Regions from separate parts of the Homo sapiens genome. Here region 2 is linked to region 1. Evidence: promoter capture Hi-C in human tissues and cell types (Jung and others, 2019). All regions are on one chromosome and are shown on one strand. Each heading gives the region's core, a stretch centred on a gene start or on the middle of the fragment in contact. The rest is flanking DNA. Distances are from core to core; before and after follow the strand shown.

Region 1 (5,486 bases), core at 1,883-4,382:
CTTATGGCTTTTCTCTTAAGCTAAATTGCTGAATTCTTTGTTTTGGTTACCTTTTCTTCTGAAAACTCTCTTATGACCTCTGCTGTCCATTTATTGAACATAAATCATTAAATAAAATATTCGTTGACATTTATATCTAGATGGTAAGAAATCTTCTGCCCATCTGATTATTTGAGTCAGTTTTAGGAAACAATATATGCTAAGAAATGCTTTAAAATTGTTTTCTTATAAATGTAATATATTTTCACTATTGATAACACACAAAAAATTGCAGTAACCACTCATCATATCACTGCTTAAAGATAACAACTGTTATCAAGTGGTATATATCCCTCTGGAATTGTTTCTGTAAAGTATAATTTTATGTTAAATTTATTATTATTATTACACAATTGAGATCATACTATACGTGCAATTTTGTATATATTCTTTTCACTTTATATATGGACTATTTCCCATATCAAGATATGTTTAAATTGTTGCATAATATATCAGCTATATACTAATTTATGTAATACTGTCTTATTTGGGAGCATTTAACATTTTTTTATTGAGACAGAGTTTCACTCTTGCCGCCCAGGCTGGAGTGCAGTGGTGTGATCTCGGCTCACTGCAACCTCTACCTCCTGTGTTTAAGTGATTCTCCTGTCTCAGCCTCCTGAGTAGCTGGGATTACAGGTGTCCATCACTACGCCAAGCTAATTTTTTTAATTTTTAGTAGAGATGGAGTTTCACCATGTTGGCCAGGCTGGTCCTGAACTCCTGACCTCAGGTGATCCACCTGTCTCAGCCTCCCAAAGTGCTGAAATTACAGGCATGAGCCACTGCACCTGGCCAGGGAGCATTTAAATTGATGCAATTATTTTCTCTTACAAGTAACCCTATAAAACATAATTCCTTGAGCATCCCTAATTTTATGCTTACATCCCCAAAAGCACAATTTCTGAGTCATAGAAAAAGCTTTTCATTCTTATTGCTGAATTGAACTCTAAAAATTTTGTGCTAACTTAACACTCCTACCAGAAGTATATGTTCATGACCACAGAAATAGCTTTTTTAAACTAAGATGTGAAAATATCTTAGAAACAAACTCTAAATAAGGAGAAAAAAGTTGTATATAATTTTCTACTTATGAGGTGAATAATTTCATTTTTTCTTCAAAGGTGTCAGGAAAATGGACGTTTTGGTAGAGTGATAAAAGGGCCAGACCTTCTAATTGCTTAATCTTAATGTTTCTGAATCTGTTTCCCCATCTATAGTGTGAGGAGAATAATTTCCCTCCTAATTAGTGAGGATACAGTGAGATGACGCATGTGAACATGGTTTGACAATTATAATGTCATATGGATGGAAGATACAACTTTTATTAATCATTGTTGATATGTGGACAGATTTGATACTCATTATACTGTTTTTAAGTGTCTATAACTTTAACTATTTTATACCAATCTTAATATTAATAATTTTCTCCATTTTCAACCTTGTATGATCAGCAAAGTAAATTTTCAGTCAATTCTATTTGGTTTTTGTTTGAAAAAGTAAAATAATGATTATGCAACATAGAAAATTATAGTTCAGTTGCCAATTCCATTAACTTAGTTTGTCTCAGAAACGGAAAAATTACCATAGACACAGAATTAACTATTAAGAATTAATATTTAATCTAAAAATGTCTAGTGTTTCTACAGAAAATTTGAGTACATTCTCAACTTCCTTAAACCAGTGCCTTTTTCAAATTTCTTTTCAAAGTTACACCTGTCAATTTTCATAAAAAATAGTTTGAAGATTATTCTGAATAATTATAACCAATGAAACACAAAGACAAGAAAAGAACTATTGCAGTGGGCCCTTGCTGAACCTGAGCTAGCACCTATAATGAGTGAGTCTTCACCGAAAGAAGAATAAGGAGGGAGCAAGGACTAGAAGGACAGAAAAGAGGCAATGATAACTTAAGAGAACACTGAATTTTTAAAAATTTTAAAAAGGTAGTGGCTAGCAGAGAACCTGAGACTTGTACCCATGAGAACTTTAGCCCAGTCTATCTATCACGATAGCCCCAAGAATTCTGGTCATTGTACTTGGGTAAGGGCTTCAATTTTTTAAGGCACTTGCATTTTATGAAATGTTAGTGTTTGCAGGTGTCTTGGCTAAATAATTTAGGGAATACATTTTAGGAGGAAGTAGGGGCACAGAGGGGGAGAGAGAAACCAGGCAGGAAAGAAGAAAAAAAGAAGAAAATAAATCTTTCTGTTCCCATTATTTTACTGCCCATAGAATTATAAAAGGTAAACACACACACACACACACACACACACACACACACACACACACACACACACACACCTTATAGGGTCATTTAGAACCATCTTTCTTCATTTTAAAACTAAAGAAACAGGTCTAGGTGACACAGATGAAGCAGTGGCAGAGCCAGGAAAATAATCTGACCCTTGTCCCTGCTCTTTCCACCGCACCATGGTGACTCTCTTTTTTGTGTCTTTTTTTTTTTCACTCTAAAACTGATGATCATTTGTAGTCAAAGAGATCAATGCTATTCTCAAAACAAGTTCTGATCTCTCATAATTTTCTTGGTAACTCAGAATCAATGTTAAGTACGTTGAAATAAAAATACAGTACTTTACACGGTAATTTGGTAGACTGTGCACCACGGTCCCATCCATTTTCTTACTTGATCCTCACAAAAACCCTTTGAGGCAAGGCAAGGAAGGTATTATCATCTACATTTTTAAAGTGAGCAAATTAAAACCCAAAGTAAGGTCACTTAGGGTCAGGACGGAGCAAGTACTCTATTCCTATATTTGGAATATAGGAGGGAATACACTTCCAAAGAGGCAATTCCCTCAAAAAGCACCAATCTTGCTCTTTACTCTCTTACCAAGGCATTCTCCATGCCCTGGAGATGCCCGCACTAGGTTAGTGAAGCTTGGATCTTGACATCCACATAGGTTACTCCTAGTTTGCACCTAGTTGTCAACTTAAAAAGCGCAGTTTCTTACCCCTTCCCTTGGTCCTGATCCTTATTTAGGCTCCTATTTTTCTCTTTGGGATTTGGCCTCCTGGGTCTCACTCCAAAGCTCCACCCTCTCCAAACAAGAAGTCGCGTCCTTGGTATCCAAGGTGACCATGCAGCTTTACCCTCGTTGCCCCCTTCCGTGCTTCCCATTGGCCAGTGGCCTCCCATGTACCGCCCCTCCAATAGCCAATGGTCTTGAAACAAAGGGCGCCCGCCTTTCCAGCGATTCTAACACCTGCCCTCTTACCCGTGCTCCCCTGCGCATTGCCTCCTGGGATATGTGGTTTCTAAGAGGCGGAGCTCTGCGACTTTCCACCGCTTTAGAACTACGTATCCCGTCGGCCTTAGCGAAAGGGGGTGGACTTAGGCAAGGGGTCCAGGTCAGAGTTCAGAGCTTTCAAATCCCAACTTGCCCCTGGGGATTACGCAGCTGATGTTTACATCGCCTAGTCAAGCCAACCGGCTCGCTCTTGTTTCAGCAAACCCTGACTTACGTCTCCTATTTGACTTGAGGCGGCACAGTGGCCAAGTCGATTGGCCGTGGCAAGTGACCCTCCCTGTGGCTGAAGTGTTCTGAGGACTGGCGAGAGAGGCGCGCCATGCTTGCCCCCTGTTCAGGTTGGGAGCTTGGCTGCTTCCGTCTCTGTCTCCGTCAGGTCCGACTGTGGGCTGGCGCTGGGCGCTGGTCTTGCTGGGCTTGCCAAGCCAGGCCGTACAGCTCAGGTAGGGGCGAGCGCTGGCCCGGATCGGAGACTGAGGTCCCTCCGCCTGGCCCGGCGCGCCGAACTCTGAAGGAGTGGACACTGCAGGTGAGCCCGTTCGGTCGGCTGCGGGCGCGGCTCCCGTGCCACCTGGCCGTGAGGCCCCTGGACCCCCTCACCTACCCGGATGGCGACCGCGTGCTGGTCGCGGTGTGCGGCGTGGAGGGCGGCGTGCGGGGCCTGGACGGCCTGCAGGTGAAGTACGACGAGGATCTGGAGGAGATGGCCATTGTGTCTGATACTATCCACCCCCAGGCGTCCGTGGAGGTGAACGCGCCCCTGAAGTTTGGCAAGTGAAGTGAAGTGAAAACGGGTTTGGGTCCCAGGGAACGCACAGTGAACTTAATAAATTTGGTCGACGTGCACTTTTAATTGGTCCTGGCTTTCTAAACCTAATTTACAGTTGGCCCCTTCGGAAATGCAACTTTTCCTCTGTTCTATTCTTGAGTATCCGAGTAGTATTTAAAAAATTAGGTTCCCAATTATAGAAATTTTATACATCGAATGGAAACACGATTTGGTATAATCCAGGTCAAATTCTATTTCTGGAGCCGCTTGTGTTCTTCTTTATCCCGTTGTCATTAGCAAACTGGCTTATTTTTCAAGGTTGAAGTTTCTTGACAATTCATTCAATGGTATGGCAGTCCATCTACATTTCCCCTTGCTCACAGCCTGGGGGTGTGTCCCAAAACAGCCCTGTCAATAGGATGTTCCAGGTACCACCTGGTTTGAGTATTTGGTTTTAGACGGGCGCCCAGCTTCTTACTGTTATGTTTCCATTCTTTTTGGCCTAAGTTTTCCATGAGTAGCAAGCTTTGAAGAAAAACACATGGTAAGCCTGCCTAGGAAGCTTCAATAATAATGCCTGCAAGATACCTTTCTTAGGTTTTCCTAAATGGCAAGCCACTGTGTACACACACTTTTCTAGGAAGGGCTCCCCAGACTGTCATTCTTCCTGGGACTGAAGGAAGATATTGATGATGATGATGATGGTAATAATAATAGCATTTAGCATTTTTAAGATCATCTTTTATAATGCTTACAGTTGCCCAAATAGTAGATGCCGTAGTCCTCCCTTATCCACCGTTTGGCTGTCTGAGTTTGTTACCTGCCTCAACTGTTGTAGGAAAATATTAAGATATTTTGACAGATCACAGTAATATAACTTTTATTACAGTATATTGTTATAATTGCTGTATTTATTATTATTGTTGTTCATCTCTTACTATGCCTAGTTTATAAATTAAACTTGATCATTGATATGTATACAGGAAAAAACATAGAATATATAGGATTTGGTACTATTTGTGGTTTCAGGAATCAAGTCGGGGGGGCGGGTCTTGCCTACTTTAAGAGAAATCATCAATATTTATGTTAATTCCAAATTAAATATCAGCGTTTTTAATTTTTAAAATTTGTATACAGCGATGCCTGCAGTTACATCTTAAATAGACAGCCAAGGATGGCATTTGTAATTCCTTATTTTCCAAACTTGCTTCATGTACCACTGCCATTTGTCCACAATCTTGTGGGGTTTTTTGTTTGTTTGTTTTGGTTTTTTTTGAGACTGCATCTCACTCACTCTGCCATGCAGGCTGGAGTACAGGTGCACAATCATGGCCCACTGCAGTCTTGACTTCACGGTTTTAAGCAATCTTCTCGCCTCCGCCTCCTGAGTAGCTGGGACTACAGGT
Region 2 (5,622 bases), core at 2,765-5,264, 35 kb before region 1:
TGGCCAACAAGTACATAAAAAGGTCATCAACATTACCAACCACTGGGGAAATGCAAATCAAAACCACAATAAGATGTCGCCTCACACCTGTTAGGATGGCTATGATTGAAAAAACAAAAGATAGTAATTTTTTTTTCTTTTATTATTATTATACTTTAAGTTTTAGGGTACATGTGCACAATGTGCAGGTTACTTACATGTGTATACATGTGCCATGCTGGTGTGCTGCACCCATTAACTCGTCATTTAGCATTAGGTATATCTCCTAAAGCTATCCCTCCCCCCTCCCCCCACCCCACAACAGTCCCCAGAGTGTGACGTTCCCCTTCCTGGGTCCATGTGTTCTCATTGTTCAATTCCAACCTATGAGTGAGAATATGCGGTGTTTGGTTTTTTGTTCTTGTGATAGTTTACTGAGAATGATGATTTCCAATTTCATCCATGTCCCCACAAAGGACATGAACTCACCATTTTTTATGGCTGCATAGTATTCCATGGTGTATATGTGCCACATTTTCTTAATCCAGTCTATCATTGTTGGACATTTGGGTTGGTTCCAAGTCTTTGTTATTGTGAATAATGCCACAATAAACATACGTGTGCGTGTGTCTTTATAGCAGCATGATTTATAGTCCTTTGGGTATATACCCAGTAATGGGATGGCTGGGTCAAATGGTATTTCTAGTTCTAGATCCTTGAGGAATCACCACACTGACTTCCACAATGGTTGAACTAGTTTACAGTCCCACCAACAGTGTAAAAGTGTTCCTATTTCTACACATCCTCTCCAGCACCTGTTGTTTCCTGACTTTTTAATGATTGCCATTCTAACTGGTGTGAGATGGTATCTCATTGTGGTTTTGATTTGCACTTCTCTGATAGCCAGTGATGGAGAGCATTTTTTCATGTGTTTTTTGGCTGCATAAATGTCTTCTTTTGTGAAGTGTCTGTTCATGTCCTTCGCCCACTTTTTGATGGGGTTGTTTGTTTTTTTCTTGTAAATTTGTTTGAGTTCATTGTAGATTCTGGATATTAGCCCTTTGTCAGATGAGTAGGTTGCAAAAATTTTCTCCCATTTTGTAGGTTTCCTGTTCACTCTGATGGTAGTTTCTTTTGCTGTGCAGAAGCTCTTTAGTTTAATTAGATCCCATTGGCAATTAGGCAGGAGAAGGAAATAAAGGGTATTCAATTAGGAAAAGAGGAAGTCAAATTGTCCCTGTTTGCAGATGACATGATTGTATATCTAGAAAACCCCATGGTCTCAGCCCAAAATCTCCTTAAACTGATAAGCAACTTCAGCAAAGTCTCAGGATACAAAATCAATGTGCAAAAATCACAAGCATTCCTATACACCAATAATAGACAAACAGAGAGCCAAATCATGAGTGAACTCCCATTCACAATTGCTTCAAAGAGAATAAAATACCTAGGAATCCAACTTACAAGGGACGTGAAGGACCTCTTCAAGGAGAACTACAAACCACTGCTCAAGGAAATAAAAGAGGATACAAACAAATGGAAGAACATTCCATGCTCATGGGTAGAAAGAATCAATATCATGAAAATGGCCATACTGCCCAAGGTAATTTATAGATTCAATGCCATCCCCATCAAGCTACCAATTACTTTCTTCACAGAATTGGAAAAAACTACTTTAAAGTTCATATGGAACCAAAAAAGAGCCCACATCGCCAAGTCAATCCTAAGCCCAAAGAACAAAGCTGGAGGCATCACGCTACCTGACTTCAAACTATACTACAAGGCTACAGTAACCAAAACAGCATGGTACTTGTACCAAAACAGAGATATAGATCAATGGAACAGAATAGAGCCCTCAGAAATAGCGTCGCATATCTACAACTATCTGATCTTTGACAAACCTGAGAAAAACAAGCAATGGGGAAAGGATTCCCTATTTAAAAAATGGTGCTGTGAAAACTGGCTAGCCATATGTAGAAAGCTGAAACTGGATCCCTTCCTTACACCTTATACAAAAATTAATTCAAGATGGATTAAAGACTTAAACGTTAGACCTAAGACCATAAAAACCCTAGAAGAAAACCTAGGCATTACCATTCAGGACATAGGCATGGGCAAGGACTTCATGTCTAAAACACCAAAAGCAATGGCAACAAAAGATAGTAATTGTTGATAAGAATGTGAAGAAAAAGGAACCCTTGTACACTGTTAGTGGGAAGGTAAGTTGGTAAACCATTATAGAAAACAGTATGAAGTTTCCTCAAAAAGTAAAAAATAAACCTTCCTTATTATCCAGCAATTCTTCTGGTTATATATCCAAATGAATCGAAATCAGGATCTCGAAGCGATATTGGCACTCCCACGTTCATTTCATCACTATTTACAAAAGCCAAGATATGGAAACAACATAAATTTCCATGGACATATGAATGGACAAAGAAATTGCGATATATGTATACAATGGAACATTTTACAGCCACAGGAAAGGAAATTCTGCCATTTGCAACATCATGGATAGAAAATGAAATATTTAGGCAGACAGAGAAATACAAATACTATATGATCTCACTTATATATGGAACTTAAAGCAGTCAAACTCATAGAAGCAGAGTGGGATGGTGGTTGCCAGGGACTTGGGGTAGGAGAAACTGGGGAGTAATAGTTAAAGAGTACAAAATTTCAGCTATGCAAGATAAATAAGTTTTGAAGATCTACTAGACAGCATAGTGCCTGTAGCTAACAATACCCTATTGTATACTTAAAATTACTAAGAGATTAGATCTTATGATAAAGCAGCAACAAAAATAATAATACAGGGGGTGGATAAAACTTTGGATGGTGATAGATATGTTTATGAGATTGATGATGGTTGGTGGTTTCATGGATGTATACTTATCCCCAAACTCATTGAGATGTATACATTAAATATGTACAGTATTTTATACATCAACCATACCTCAATAACGTGTTTTTTTAAAAAAGGAAAGACAGGGAGAATGAGTAGTGAAAGAAAACCCAACAGAGGCAAATATAAAAAAGTCTGTGTGAATTAAAACAAAAAAACACTAATTAATCTAATTAAATAGGCAGGAAAGGACTTAACCAGATAACAAAGTTTAATGGATAAAACAAATATCTGGCTGGGCGCAGTGGTTTACGCCTGTAATCCCAGTACTTTGTGGTGTGGAGGTGGGCGGATCACGAGGTCAGAAGTTAGAGACCAGCCTGGCCAACATGGTGAAACCCCGTCTCTACTAAAAATACAAAAATTAGCCGGGCATGGTGGTGGGCGCCTGTAATCCCAGCTACTCAGGAGGCTGAGGCAGGAGAATCGTTTGAACCTGGAAGGCAGAGGTTGCAGTGAGCCGAGATAGCGCCACTGCACTCCAGCCTGGGCAACAGAGTGAAACTCTGTCTCAAAACAAAAAACAAAAAAAAACAATAAATATCCAAAGACAGTTAATATATAGGATTGCAAAGCCCATTGTATTAATAGTTCCATATTGCAGGCAATATGATTGACAGCTGTAAATAAAATAATAGAATAAAGTATATTCTCAGGCTACGGTGATATGAACAGAGAATGTTTAATATAACACCTTAAATTCCTGGCATAGGAAGAACTACATAGCCATCAGGTATGGTAATTCTAGAGACTTATATCTCCAGAATGCCTAAATCAATTAAATAAATATTTATTGAGTTTTCCTATAAAGAATTTACAAATATGCAAACAATGTATAATCTGAAGAGAAAGTAAGGCAGGGAAAGAACTAGTTCTCTGTCACATAAGCTGAGGTAAAATAAGCCCAAATAAAAAGCAACGTTCTTAGGAGAGTAGATAGGGCTGAAAAAGTAACTGGTAGCCTGGAATTTGGGACTTGAACTCTAGGCATTGGGAGCCATGGCAGAGTTGTAAAGATATTGCTGACAATATTGCTGAGAAGAATGGCTTGGAAAATGTGTGAATTTAGAGGCAAGGAAACAATCTGGAGGCTGGGACCCAGCCACTGTGCTATGGGTAGGAGATAGGTACCATGGTGAGCAAGACCAGACAAGGTTCCTGACCTTAGGGGACGCAGAGACTGGCAGCAAGACAAGTTAATCAAAAAATCACAGACATAAAATTCTAAACGTTTTAACTGAAATTGGTGCTATGATAACTTGGACCACAGAAACAGGGTGGCCACACACTGCACACTTACAGGGAGCACCACTGGCATAGCAAGTTCTGCAGAGAAGCAGCCCCCACTGGAAGGAGGCAAGGCAGTACCATGAGATGCTGTAGGAGTCTGAAGAGAAGAGGATGTGGCCTTAAGGGGATTTTAAGAAAGCAGAAGACATGAATAAGCCAAAATAGGAAGCTTCACAAAGAATAATTAAGCAATAAACATTGCAGGGTACCCCTTGTTTTGTAATACACATCAGTAATTCCTCTTCTTCAAATGAAACATAGGTGATCATCATTTTGTTTTGATTTTGAATTATTAAGGAAACATTTCTAGATAGTTACAAGGAGCATGTGTAAAAACCAAATACTGCATGCTCCAGAGAATGGGGCAGGATACACAAACAATGTGACTTTTGGACAATAAAATGGCAATGCTTCAAGAAAGCTGTAGCAGAAAACCACACGGTCTTTCAATATTACTCATCATTGAACAAGCACAGGTTTTGCTCATTTTAGAAACAGCAGGGTGTAATGTAAAGTTGAACATGATTTATTTCTCTCCTAGTCCCACACAGAACCTGAGTGTTCTTTTTTGTGACTTGGCTCTTCTGACTGCCCTGAAGATAAGATTGGGTGCTCCTTCCCCCAGCAGCCCATTGCTCTACAAGGTTAATTACAACATGTTTCTACAGGAACTCAGAGCTGACCCCTTGGAGGAAGGGAGAACTCTGGGACACTTCCATTTTTTTGTTTTGTTTTGTTTTAGTTTCCTAACATGTTAAAAAACATAGAAACTTCAAAACAGGGTTACAAAAATTGTGGTATAAAGTTGTATGACAAGTGCCTTCAATTCTGTCAGTGTATCTCTGGTAATTATATGTATATTATCTTTTGGAGATAACATAAAAAGTCTATAAAATTTAAGGCTCATCCTATGGGGCCTCCGGTCCACTATATGACAGGCTCAGAATATTGGGCAGCCAATCTGACATGAGGCATACCTCAGATCCATTTAATGGACAACAACAACAACAAAATCAGATGGAACTAACTTAATAGTCCTAAAAGCCACAGATAAAATGATTGCAGTTATTCCTGCCTAGATTTTATATTCTAAGTACAATTATACAATGCTCATTTTTACCATACAAAGACAATGTTAGACTTGAAACATTTTTTAAGATATAGATACATATTTTATTTTATTTATTTTTATTTTTGTGGGTACATAGTAGGTATATATATTTATGGAGATGCTTTTTTTAAAAAAGAAAGTAAAAATGTTATTCAAAGACCCAACAAATCAAATCACAACATTTTTTTTTTTCCTAAAAGGAATGATAAAGAGGACTTTCGAAAAAAGAATCCTGAAAAGAAAAGAGTCCTACAGGAAAAACAAAAAGAATCTTAAAGGAAAAATGAAAACTCTTGCAGTAAATATGTACAGATAAAAATTGCCTCATAATTGAAGT

The links. The method cuts DNA at HindIII sites, captures the fragments that hold promoters and counts their contacts. A contact is called where the count stands out against the background at its distance.
Region 2: a contact is called between a fragment that was not itself captured here and the fragment with the promoter of CCDC146 in region 1, in 4 of the 25 tissues and cell types used here (adrenal gland, aorta, hippocampus and 1 more).

The regions. Positions count from the first base shown.
Region 1 is chr7:77,120,261-77,125,746 of GRCh38, reverse strand. It overlaps CCDC146 (coiled-coil domain containing 146), which reads right to left and starts at 3,132. Exons shown (of 19, transcript NM_020879.3): 1 at 3,015-3,132. It also overlaps the pseudogene FAM185BP. RefSeq lists a silencer at 3,347-3,446 and enhancers at 3,342-3,841, 3,842-4,343. The HindIII fragment of the contact is 9,649 bases long and covers 1,951-5,486 here.
Region 2 is chr7:77,156,313-77,161,934 of GRCh38, reverse strand. The region is part of intron 1 of CCDC146 (coiled-coil domain containing 146); the gene reads right to left. All of the region lies in intron 1 of LOC124901678 (a long non-coding RNA gene), which reads left to right. Among named protein-coding and RNA genes, the nearest start is that of CCDC146, 37 kb to the right of the region's middle. The HindIII fragment of the contact is 7,736 bases long and covers 147-5,622 here.